3 separate regions of the Homo sapiens genome follow, and regions 2 and 3 are each linked to region 1. Evidence: promoter capture Hi-C in human tissues and cell types (Jung and others, 2019). All regions are on one chromosome and are shown on one strand. Each heading gives the region's core, a stretch centred on a gene start or on the middle of the fragment in contact. The rest is flanking DNA. Distances are from core to core; before and after follow the strand shown.

Region 1 (3,732 bases), core at 887-3,386:
CAATATGCACCAATTACACTCAGTGTACCTACCTTACAGATGTGAAACTCAAATGTAATGTCTAAAAACACACCCAAGGAAACCACAATTAAAACCTCAGACATCCTCCCCTCTTCCCCTAACAGCATCTGCCTGTGGCTCCTCAGCTTCCAAGTGCGGAGGTTGCAGTAAGCCAAAATTGTGCCACTGCACTCCAGCCTGGGCAAAAGAGCAAGACTTGGTCTTTAAAAAAAAAAAAAAAAAAAAAAATCCAGCAGAATTACTTAAACACAGTGTTTACGTATAAAGGAAGCAAAAGGCCTGGCGTGGTGGCTCATGCCTGTAATCCCAGCATTTTGGGAGGCCAAGGCGGGAGGATCATGAGGTCAGGAGATCAGGAGATTGAGACCATCCTGGGAAACATAGTGAAACACTCTCTACTAAAAAAAAAAAAAAAAAATACAAAAATTAGCTGGGCGTGGTAGCTTGTGCCTGTAATCCCAGCTACTTGGGAGGTTGAGGCAGGAGAATCGCTTGAACCCGAGAGGCAGAGGTTGCAGTGAGCTGAGATCGTGTCACTGCACTCCAGCCTGGCGAGAAAGCTAGACTCCGTCTCAAAAAAAAAAGTAAATAAATAATAAATAAATAAATAAATAAATAAATAAAGGAAGGAAGCAAGAAAATTTTAAGCCATTTAACAAGAAAACCCACTATTGCTTTCAGAAAATGAGAATGTTGGGCCGGTAATAGTAGCTCATGCCTGGAATCCTAGCACTTTGGGATGCTGAGGGTGGAGGATCGCTTGAGCCCAGGAGTTCAAGATCAGCCTGAGCAACACAGCCAGACCCCATCTGTTAAAAAAAAAAAAAAGAAAATAATAATGTCAGTTAATTATTTCCATGGCAATAAATAGTTTACAAAAGTATTACTTCTATCTGAATGCTTCTAGATGTTGCAAGTTTAAGTCCTGGAATACCATCTGAAACATCAAACTAAAAGAACAGACCTGAGAAACATATTCCATGTGCTCAGGGAAAGAACAAAGAATTTTTAACAAATGTAATATTGGGATGTTTTTTGTTTTCTGAGATTCATTTCTTTTTTGCCCTTTGGAAATATTTTGTACTGTCTCTCAAGTTCTTCTGATAACATATATTTTATATTTATTGGAAAAATGACATTCGAGTGAATAAATCTTTTCAAGGTCATAAACCCAAGGCGGGACAGTGCCAATCTGAAACTGTGCTGAAAAGATAGATTACCCAGGAAAGTTTACAAAAAGGAACCTCAACGCAAAGGAGTTCCCATAGGATGTCTGTGCCCTGGAAAGGTACCAGGATGAGGGCCACAGCATTTTATGCAGATTAGTTCCAAGTGAATAATTTTTCTGATTTTTCTCTGATGTAAAATATCCACAAACAAGAAATAAATCGTTTAAAAGAGGCATCTATTGGAAAAAAGATTATTAAAATACTGCGTGTGTTTGAAATGCACCACACAGGACAAAGAGTTGGTGACGATGTTTTCCACTGGCGAGCGGAAGTAGGCGTTTGGGAATTCGGGGAGGGATCCGGAAATCTAGGGATTAATGGCCCGCCGTGGGAGGAGCTAGGCTGGGGGGACAGGGTAGTGGATTTGAGACTCTGCTTCCAACATCTTTGGAAGACTCAGGGGGAAACAGCCTTTGGGAAGAAAGAAGGGACTGGGAACCCCAGACTGTAGCTCCTCCCACACAAACCAAACACACAAGGCGGGATTCTCCCCAGGACCCTCCCGTGGTCCCTGCACGATCTGGGAAAGACGCGGGGCTGCGGGCGCGGAGTTGTCCAGAGAGGGCTCCGGGGCTGGGACCGCAGTCGCCGCGCAGGGACGGGACAGGACGCTTGGAGTTCCAGCTGCCAGCCCAGCCCCACACTGCGGCCGGAGGTGACCGTGGGGAGGCCCGGGTCCCGCGATCACGGCCGGTTCCAACTAGTCCGGCCCTGCACACTCACCATTTTCCGGCCTCGCGGGTGTCCCGGTGTTGTCCCTAAGGTTCACGGAGCCAGCGCAGGGTACAGCGCATCCGATGCAGGGGTACAGCAACCTGACGCGTCAAGGGGCCAGGAGACCCCAAGCTAAGCACAACCCGATCGCACAGTGACGTAGCACGCATTTGCGCAGCGTAGCCGTACCCTCCTTTCCGGCGCCGCCCCTGATTGGACAATTATACAGCCCCGCCCCTTTTTGTCCGAATGACAGCTAGGCAGCAGGTCTAGTAGCTAGGCAGATCTCGCTTCCGCCGGTGGGACGGAACTGGTGCCCTCCGTGGACAATTGTGTTGAAGCAGAAATTGTTCCGGATCTCGGGTCGGACACGGAAGTCTTCCTGCAGTGTTTCTGGATGCGGGGACAGGGATGCGCAGGAATTCCAGTCTCAGTTTCCAGATGGAGCGACCCCTCGAGGAGCAAGTCCAGAGCAAGTGGTCGTCTAGTCAAGGCCGCACAGGAACAGGAGGGTCTGATGTCCTCCAGGTACCAGGGGCTTGGCATAATGTTGTAAGGCCTCTCGTGGAATAGTGACCCTTGTTTATAAACAGACGGTTACCCCATCATGTGTAATAAAAAGTGTGGTTGCATTTTAATCTTTGACCATAACAGCGTTGAGGCGTCCACCTTTCTTTTCCCCACCTCCACACATTTGGCACTTTAGAAAAGGAACCCCAAGGCAGGGCTTGGTGGCGCACACCCGTAGTCCCAGCTACTGCGTGGTGGGGGCGGTGGGGGAGGTCGGGGGGTGGGTGGGCTGAGGCGGGTGGATCGCTTGACTCCAGGAGTTTGAGTTCAGTCTGGGCAACATGGCCAGAACCCATCCCAAGAAAAAAAAAAAAAGGAAAGAAAGAAAAAACAATCCGTAGGACACCCGAGCACTTGGCTCGGGTGGTAAATTGCAACCCTAACCTGGGCACAGGGACTCTTCAGACCAATCACGATCTATGAGACGTGCTCAGTAAACTGCGTTTTACTCTGGAAGGAAATGGTTTGTTTTCGTTGTTTTTTTGTTTGTTTGTTTTTAGTTTAAGCATGTTTTTATTGCTTTTCATTTTTATTTTTATTTTTGTAGATTTATGGTTACAAATGCACTTGTGTTACGTGGATATATTTCATAGTGGCGAAGTCTGGCTTTTAGTGCACCCATCACCCAAAGAGTGTATATTGTACCCAATAGGTAATATTTCATCCCTCATCCCCCCTCTCTGTCCAACCTATTGGCATCTCCAGTGTCTATTATTCCATTCTGTATGTCCATGTTTACCCATTGTTTAGCTCCCACTTATATGTAAGAAGATGCAGTTTTTGACTTTCTGTTTTTGCATCATCGCACTTAGGATAATGGCCTCCAGTTCCATCCGTGTTGCTGTAAAGTGGAAGGAAATTTATCTCAAATAAGTTTTCTAAAGTGTCCCTACAGAACTTGGAAAGACCAAGAGCCCAAAACCAGCCTGGGCAACATAGCGAGACCCCATTTCTCAAAAAATTTTTAAAAATTAGCTGGGTATGGTGTTCACCTGTAGTCCTAGCTCCTTCGGAGGCTGAGGCAGAAGGATCTCAAGGCTAAGAGTTTGAGGTTACAGTGAGCCAAGATTGTGCCACTGCATTCCAGCCTGGGAGAGAGAGAGACTGTCTCTAAATTTTTTTTTTAAAGTAGAAACATATTTCATTTTTCCCATTATAGAGGAGACAGTGTAATCTTGAAAACTCCCATGATCCACCC
Region 2 (3,732 bases), core at 359-2,858, 910 kb after region 1:
TTCTCTGTCTCTTCTCCTTCTGAAACTCCCACAGTGCATATATTGGCCTGCCTGATGCTGTCTCACACGTCTCACCTGACTGCCACACCTATGTCTAGCTTATTACCAGGTCAGGGCTCTGTAGAGAGTGGGTATCTGGCTATCTTGGTAGAGATTAACTTGGCAGAGGTAGAACCATAAGGGCATCTGCCAGTATAATCAAGTTTCCTGTGAAGGACATTTGGTTATGGGTTAACACTTAAATATTAGACCCCATGAAAGTCACACTGTAAATATCCACAACCAAGTGTCCTGGAGCCCCGTCAATGCAGCACTAAAGTTCTTTTTGTTTGTTTTTGTTTTTGCTTTTTTTGAGACAGAGTCTCACTCAGTGGCCCAGGCTGGTGTGCAGTGGTGCAATCTCGGCTCACTGCAAGCTCTGCCTCCCGGGTTCACGCCATTCTCCTGCCTCAGCTTCCTGAGTAGCTGGGACTACAGGCGCCCGCCACCATGCCTGGCTAATTTTTTGTATTTTTTTTAGTAGAGACTGGGTTTCACCAGGTTAGCCAGGATGGTCTTGATCTCCTGACCTTGTGATCCGCCCGCCTCGGCCTCCCAAAGTGCTGGGATTACAGGCATGAGCTACCCCGCCTGGCCAGCACTAAAGTTTATAGCCACGCTTCTGAGAGAGATCCCGAGGCCAAATTAGAGGAAAACACTCCATGTGCAGCTGCCTGCAACAGGGGTAAGGGTGGGGATGATAGCTTGTATTGTGCTAAGTGATAAAATGACCACAATTAGCCATAGTTTACTGTCTAATCCTTTTTATGGAAGTTGCAAAGCTTCAATAGCCTCCACAGTTATAACATTGCTACATCAGATGATTCTGTCAGTCCAGTGGTTGTCTAGGTGGGGAGACAGCTTTTTTTTTTTTTTTAAGACAGAGTTTCGCTCTTGTTGCCCAGGCTGGAGTGCAATGGTGCGATCTCGGCTCACCGCAACCTCTGCCTCCCGGGTTCAAGCGATTCTCCTGCCTCAGCCTCCCAAGTAGCTGGGATTACAGGCATGCACCACCGCACCCGGCTAATTTTGTATTTTTAGTAGAGATGAGGTTTCTCCACATTGGTCAGGCTGGTCTCGAATTCCCGACCCCGGGTGATCTGCCCACCTCAGCCTCCCAAAGTGCTGGGATTATAGCTGTGAGCCACCACACCCGGCTGAGACAGCTTGGTTTTGTTTTTGTTTTTGTTTTTGCTTTTGTTTTTAGATGGAGTCTCGCTCTGTCGGCTGGAGTGCAGTGGTGCAATCTCTGCTCACTGCAACCTCTGACACCCGGGTTCAAGCGATTCTCCTGCCTCAGCCTCCCAAGTAGCTGGGATTACAGGTGCAGGCCACCATGCCCAGCTAAATTTTGTATTTTTAGTAGAGACGGAGTTTCACCATGCTGGTCAGGCTGGTCTCAAACTCCTGACCTCATGATCTGCCCGCCTCAGTCTCCCAAAGTGCTGGGATTACAAGCGTGAGCCACTGCGCCCGGCCTGAGAAAGCTTTTTTATGCTTGCTACTCTGCCATCTTCCCTGAATCCTCTGCCCTAACGTTTTACTGCCCTAATATATTATTTCAGGTCTCACAGTAAATGTCACCATCTCAGAGAGAATCCTTTGTACCACCTCAGTTACTCCTACATCTTTCCGTTTGTAGAGATATTTCCTTGCACTTCTCATATTCAGAGAAATTCAGTTAAGATTCACAGACTTTTTTGCTCTCCCTCTCTCTCTTTCTCTTTCTTTCTTTCTTTGGTGGAGACAGGGTGTCACTAGGTTGCCCAGGCTCCAGGCTGGTCTCAAACTCCTTGGCTCAAGTGATCCTCCAGCCTCGACCTCCCGAAGTGCTAGGATTACAGAGGTGAGCCACTGTGCATGGACTTATTTGCTTTTTTAACCTAGGAAAAGTTAAATCATAAAAATGAAACCAGGTTGGCCACAGTGGCTCACACCTGTAATCCTAACACTTTGGGAGGCCGAGGCAAGAGGACCACTTGAGCCCAGAGTTCAAGACCACCTGGGCAACATAGTGAGACCCCTACCTCTACAAATAACTTTTTAAAAAATAAGCCAGGCATGGTGGTACACACCCGTGGTCCCAGCTAACTGGAGGTTGAGGCAGGAGCATCACTGGAGCCCAGGAGGTTGAGGCTGCAGTGAGCTGTGATCGTGACAATGCACTCCTGCCTGGGCAATAGAGTGAGACCCTGTCTCAAAGAAAAAAAAAAAGAAAGAAAATGAAACAAAATTGAATGGTGTTACCTTTACTTCTATCATCTATATTGTGCTATGTAAAACTCCAAAATTCTGTTTTTAGCCATTTTCCAGAAGTGAAAATAAGAAGCTCCCTCTTGTGGTAAGGATGGCATTAACATCCTCTCTGGGCTGTGGATTTCTCCAGGTTGTGCTGAGACTCCAGAATTTACAGCAGGTGATAGTCAGCTTAGAATATTCTGTCTGTGCCCTCAATGAACAGGTGGCGACATGGGTTAGGAAGAACAGAAGCAAATAAAGGGAATGTGGTCATCATACAAGATATCACAGTCGATCCTGGAAGATAGTTTCAAATGAATAATTGAAATTGAGGGAAATGAGAGAGCCACAGGTGGATTCAACCTGGGCCAGCTGGACTGCTGAAAGGGAAGAGGTATTTATACAATGCTTAGAATTTAGCTGCAGAAATGATTGGATGGGTCAGTGGTGATGGAGTGGGGTTGAGAGTTTCAGATGGGTAAACTGAACATGTCCATTACCAGGTACAGAGCACGTGATGACAACCATGAACTGTGAAGGTTGGGGAGCTGCTGAAACAGAGGAAAAAGGGGAGAGTTCACTTTTGATTAGTGTGTGCGTGTGCGTGTGTGTGTTTTTGTTTTTTTTGTTTTGTGACAGAGCCTCGCTCTTTCACCCAGGCTGGGGTGCAGTGGCTCAATCTCGGCTCACTACAACCTCCACCTCCCCAGGTTCAAGTGATTCTCGTGCCTTAGCCTCCCAAGCAGCTGGGATTACAGGCATGCACGACCACACCCTGCTAATTTTTGTATTTTTAGTACAGATGGGGTTTCACCATGTTGACCAGACTGGTCTTGAACTCCTGACCTCAAGTGATCTGCCCACCTTGGCCTCCCAAAGTGCTGGGATTACAGGCGTGAGCCACCGTGCCCAGCCTGATTAGTTGTTTTATACAACTGTTAGGAGGAAAATAACAGTTTGTTTTCTCAAAGGAATAATTATATCCAGGTGGTTTTTAATTTTTTTTCTTTTTTTCGAGACAGAGTCTGGCTCTGTCACCCAGGCTGGAGTGTAGTGGCACAATCTTGGCTCACTGCAACCTCCGCCTCTTGGGTTCAAGCAATCCTCATGCCTCAGCCTCCCGAGTAGCTGGGACTACAGACATGGGCCACCATGCCCGGCTAATTTTGTATTTTTAGTAGAAATAAGGTTTCACTATGTTGGCCAGGCTAGTCTTGAACTCCTAGCCTCAAGTGATCTGCCTCCCAAAGTGCTGGGATGACAGGCTTGAACCACCATAGCCAACCATTTTCAGGGTTTTTTTGTTTTGTTTTGTTTGAGACAGAGTCTCACTCTGTCGCCCAGGCTGGAGTGCAGTGGCGCGATCTCAGCAAGCTGCGCCTCCCAGGTTCACGCCATTCTCCTGCCTCAGTCTCCCAAGTAGCTGGGACTACAGGCGCCCGCCACCACGCCCGG
Region 3 (3,732 bases), core at 618-3,117, 650 kb after region 1:
AAATCCCCCATCCTTTGTGTTGTGCAAGAGCACCTTACTACAATGAAACAAGCTTCCCATGGTGAATTAGATGGTGCCACGTTTGTTACCTATGACAAACCAGACACCCACTAGATATTCCAGTATTTACCTCACAAACCATTAGGTGAACAGTTTTCTCTTTAGTGATCTTTAGTCAAAATGAAATATCTATCTACCAAAGCATGCTTCAGTTTCTCTCCTTCCTCCAGGTCCCTGAACTTTTTTCTTTTTTTGAGACAGTCTTGTTCTGTAGCCCAGGCTGGAGTGCAGTAGCATGATCTTGGCTCACTGCAACCTCCGCCTCCCTGGTTCAAGTGATTCTCATGCCTCAGTCACCAGACTAGCTGGTGTTACAGGTGTGTGCCACCACACCCAGCTAATTTTTATATTTTTCATAGAGATGGTGTTTCACCATGCTGGCCAGGGTGGTCTTGAACTCCTGATCTCAAGTGATCTGCCCATCTCAGCCTCCCAAAGTGCTGGGATTACAGGCATGAGCCACCACACCCAGCCACCCCTGAATTTTTGACTGATCCCTTCTAGGCTTATATGCAACCCCACTTTATGTATTTATTTAATATTTTTATTTTTACTTGCAAGTTCAGTACCTAGACTCTTTTTATGACCTCTCCTAATGACAAGCTGATTTCAGGGTCATTAAGGTAATTAAAAGTTACTTCTTGGCTGAGCACGGTGGCTCACGCCTGTAATCCCAGCACTTTGGGAGGCCGAAGCAGGCAGATCACGAGGTCAGGAGATTGAGATCATCCTGGCTAACATGGTGAAACCCCATCTCTACTAAAAAAAATAGAAAAAATTAACTGGGCATGGTGGCGGGCGCCTGTAGTCCCAGCTACTCGGGAGGCTGAGGTAGGAGAATGGCATGAAACCGGGAGGTGGAGGTTGCAGTGAGCTGAGATCGTGCCACTGCACTCCAGCCTGGGCGACAGAGCGAGACCCCATCTCAAAAAAAAAAAAAAAAAACTTATTTCTTACTGAAACCTACATTTGTTTCACTAGAAACGTCTAGGAAAAGCTCCATGACAAAAACTGTCACTTGCGGAGGGCATCACTGAGTACTGTATCTGCCTGTGGATCCCTAGCTTTCCAGGGATCTGAGGTTCTGTCAGTATAAAGCGCTCCTCCCATGGTCAATTTGAGCAGCTGAAAACACCTGCAGTGGGAGCACCATGGGAAGAACCAGGTGAGCTTTATTTATTTTTTTGGAGAGTCTTGCTCAGTCATCCAATCTGAAGTGCAATGGTGTGATCTTGGCTCACTGCAGCCTCCGCCCCGAGTTCAAGCAGTTCTCATGCCTCAGCCTCCCGAATGGCTGAGATTACAGGCTTGAGCCCCTACACCTGGCTAATTTTTGTATTTTTAGTAGAGATGGGGTTTCGCCATTTTGGCCAGGTTGGTATCAAACTCCTTACCTGAGATGCTCCATCTGCCTTGGCCTCCCAAAGTGCTGGGATTACAGGTGTGAGCCACTGCGCCTGGTGTGAGCTTTCAATGACCTCTCTTTGTAGGTTTCTCACTGGCTTTAGTTTGCAGTCACTGGACTCAGGCCTCTGTTTCAATGAGAAAATACCCAGTGTTTGAAGAATCCGGCAAAATCTCTCAAACTCGGTTTATTATAGGCTGGAAGGAAATTATAAGGCACTTACCTATCACCCCTCATCAGGGAAAGTATCTAACCCTTTCACTCAATAAACATATTGAGAAATGTGTTTACGCTACCATGTAATTGCTCCTTCCGTGTGCATGTCAAAAAGATTAACTCTCTTCCTTGTTCTTGGGCTATAAGTCATTAGAAAACACTGAGAAGTGCCAGAGGTAGGATCCTTTTGATACCACTACCCCTCCTTACAAAAAGTTAAAGCAATCATCCTTGAAATTTGGTAAGCTGCAATTTGGCAAGCGGCAACCAATGAAATCATTGAAATATATGCATTGGCTTTGTATGGAAAATGTAACCCTATTAAGCATCTTCATTTTGCCCTACAGAAGTGAAGACTTAACTTCTCCAGTTAAGAGTGGGAGCAGTGACCCCACTCTTCAGGATGTGTTTCCCCAGTGGCTACCCTCAAACTTTGTGTTCACATAAACTCAATATTTAATCATATTATCTGAATTTTATTATCTTATTAAGGTGGACATTATTACTTCATTATGATTTCCATAACAAAGCACATACTACACATTAACCATATGTGAATATAAACATATCACAACAGTTGCCAGCCAGGTCTTACCCCACAGATAACAGGAAGAGAAGAGTTATCCACCGTTACAAGTTCTCCAACCTGCAAAGGAGGACTGATATTTTTCCGAATCTTTGTAATTCACTGATTATCTACTATACTTTGTTGTAGAAGTTTATTCCTTTTCTCCAGCTGTAATAAAAGATTTTCCCTATTTCTTTTCCCAAGCAGCATTCCCAAAGCTAAGCCCTGAAACTGTTAGAAATGATGCATAAATGGCCAGGCACGGTGGCTCACACCTGTAATCCCAGCACTTTGGGCATGGTGGCGTGCACCTGTGGTCTCAGCTATTAGGGAGGCTGAGGTGGAAGGATAGCTTAAGCCTGGAAGATGAAGGCTGCAGTGAGCTGAGATTGTGCCACTGCATTCCAGCCTGGGCACCAGAGCCAGACCTTGTCTCAAAAAAAAAAAAAAAGAAAGAAAGAAAAAGAAATCATCCACGAAAAAGGATAGACCAAGAAATGTACTACACGGCCTCTAAGGAAGAAAAAAATTAAACAAGAATTTTCAGGCTGGGCACGGTATCTCACGCCTGTATCCCAGCATTTTCGGATGCCGAGGTGGGCGGATCACAAGGTCAGGAATTTGAGACCAGCTTACCCAATATGGTGAAATCCAGTCTCTACTAAAAATACAAAAATTAGCCAGGCATGGTGGTATGCGCCTGTAGTCCCAGCTACTCAGGAGGCTGAGGCAGGAGAATCACTTGAACCTGGGAGGCAGAAGTTGCAGTGAGCCAAGATTGAGCCATTGCATTCCAGCCTGGGCAACAAGAGTAAAGCTTTGTCTCAAAAAAAAAAAAAAAAAAAAAAAAATTTTTTTGAAACAAACTCTATATAAGACAAATGATATTTTTCTGAAATCTGTCTTTATCTGGGCTCTGTGCAAAATTTTCTTATCTTTCCAATTGTAATGAAAATGCAATTTACAATTCATTAAAAAAAATCTGAAGCTGCAATAAGTGAACAATTTTTTTTGTTTTTTGTTTTTTAACAAAGGCCCTCACTCAATTACCCAGGCTGGAGTGCAGGGGCACAATCACAGCTCACTGCAGCATCAACCTCCCAGGCTTTGGTTCTCCTTCTGCCTCAGCCTCCTGGATATGGTATGTGCCACCACATCCAGCTAATTTTTTGTATTTTTTGTAGAGAGAGGGAATCGTCATGTTGCTGTGGCTGGTCTTGAGCTCCTGGGCTCAAGTGATCCTCCTGCCTTGGCCTCCCAAATTGTTGGGATTACAGATGTGAGCCACTGTGCCCAGCAATGAATAATTCTTTATAAGGAGACAAACCTTGTCTGGGCATGGTGGCTCATGCCTCGAATCCCAGCACTTTGGGAGGCTGAGCTGGGAGGACTGCTTGAGACAAACAATTAGAGAGCAACCCAAGCAACATAGCATAATCCTGACTCTATTACTTAAAATTCTAAATGAAAGTCTGAATGAAAA

Evidence for each region. The method cuts DNA at HindIII sites, captures the fragments that hold promoters and counts their contacts. A contact is called where the count stands out against the background at its distance.
Region 2: a fragment that was not itself captured here is called in contact with the fragment with the promoter of ZNF791 in region 1 in 1 of the 25 tissues and cell types used here (hippocampus).
Region 3: a fragment that was not itself captured here is called in contact with the fragment with the promoter of ZNF791 in region 1 in 1 of the 25 tissues and cell types used here (dorsolateral prefrontal cortex).

Annotation. Positions count from the first base shown.
Region 1 is chr19:12,609,324-12,613,055 of GRCh38, reverse strand. ZNF791 (zinc finger protein 791) reads right to left here and starts at 2,136. Exons shown (of 4, transcript NM_153358.3): 1 at 1,974-2,136. The coding sequence starts at 1,976. ZNF490 (zinc finger protein 490) reads left to right here and starts at 2,243. Exons shown (of 5, transcript NM_020714.3): 1 at 2,243-2,492. The coding sequence starts at 2,376. RefSeq lists enhancers at 170-239, 1,965-2,024, 2,355-2,574 and a silencer at 2,165-2,224. The HindIII fragment of the contact is 50,335 bases long and covers 1-3,732 here.
Region 2 is chr19:11,699,000-11,702,731 of GRCh38, reverse strand. No RefSeq gene overlaps it. Among named protein-coding and RNA genes, the nearest start is that of ZNF823, 38 kb to the left of the region's middle. The HindIII fragment of the contact is 5,071 bases long and covers 1-3,732 here.
Region 3 is chr19:11,954,365-11,958,096 of GRCh38, reverse strand. It overlaps a transcript of ZNF69 not described here. Among named protein-coding and RNA genes, the nearest start is that of ZNF763, 8.8 kb to the left of the region's middle. The HindIII fragment of the contact is 4,304 bases long and covers 1-3,732 here.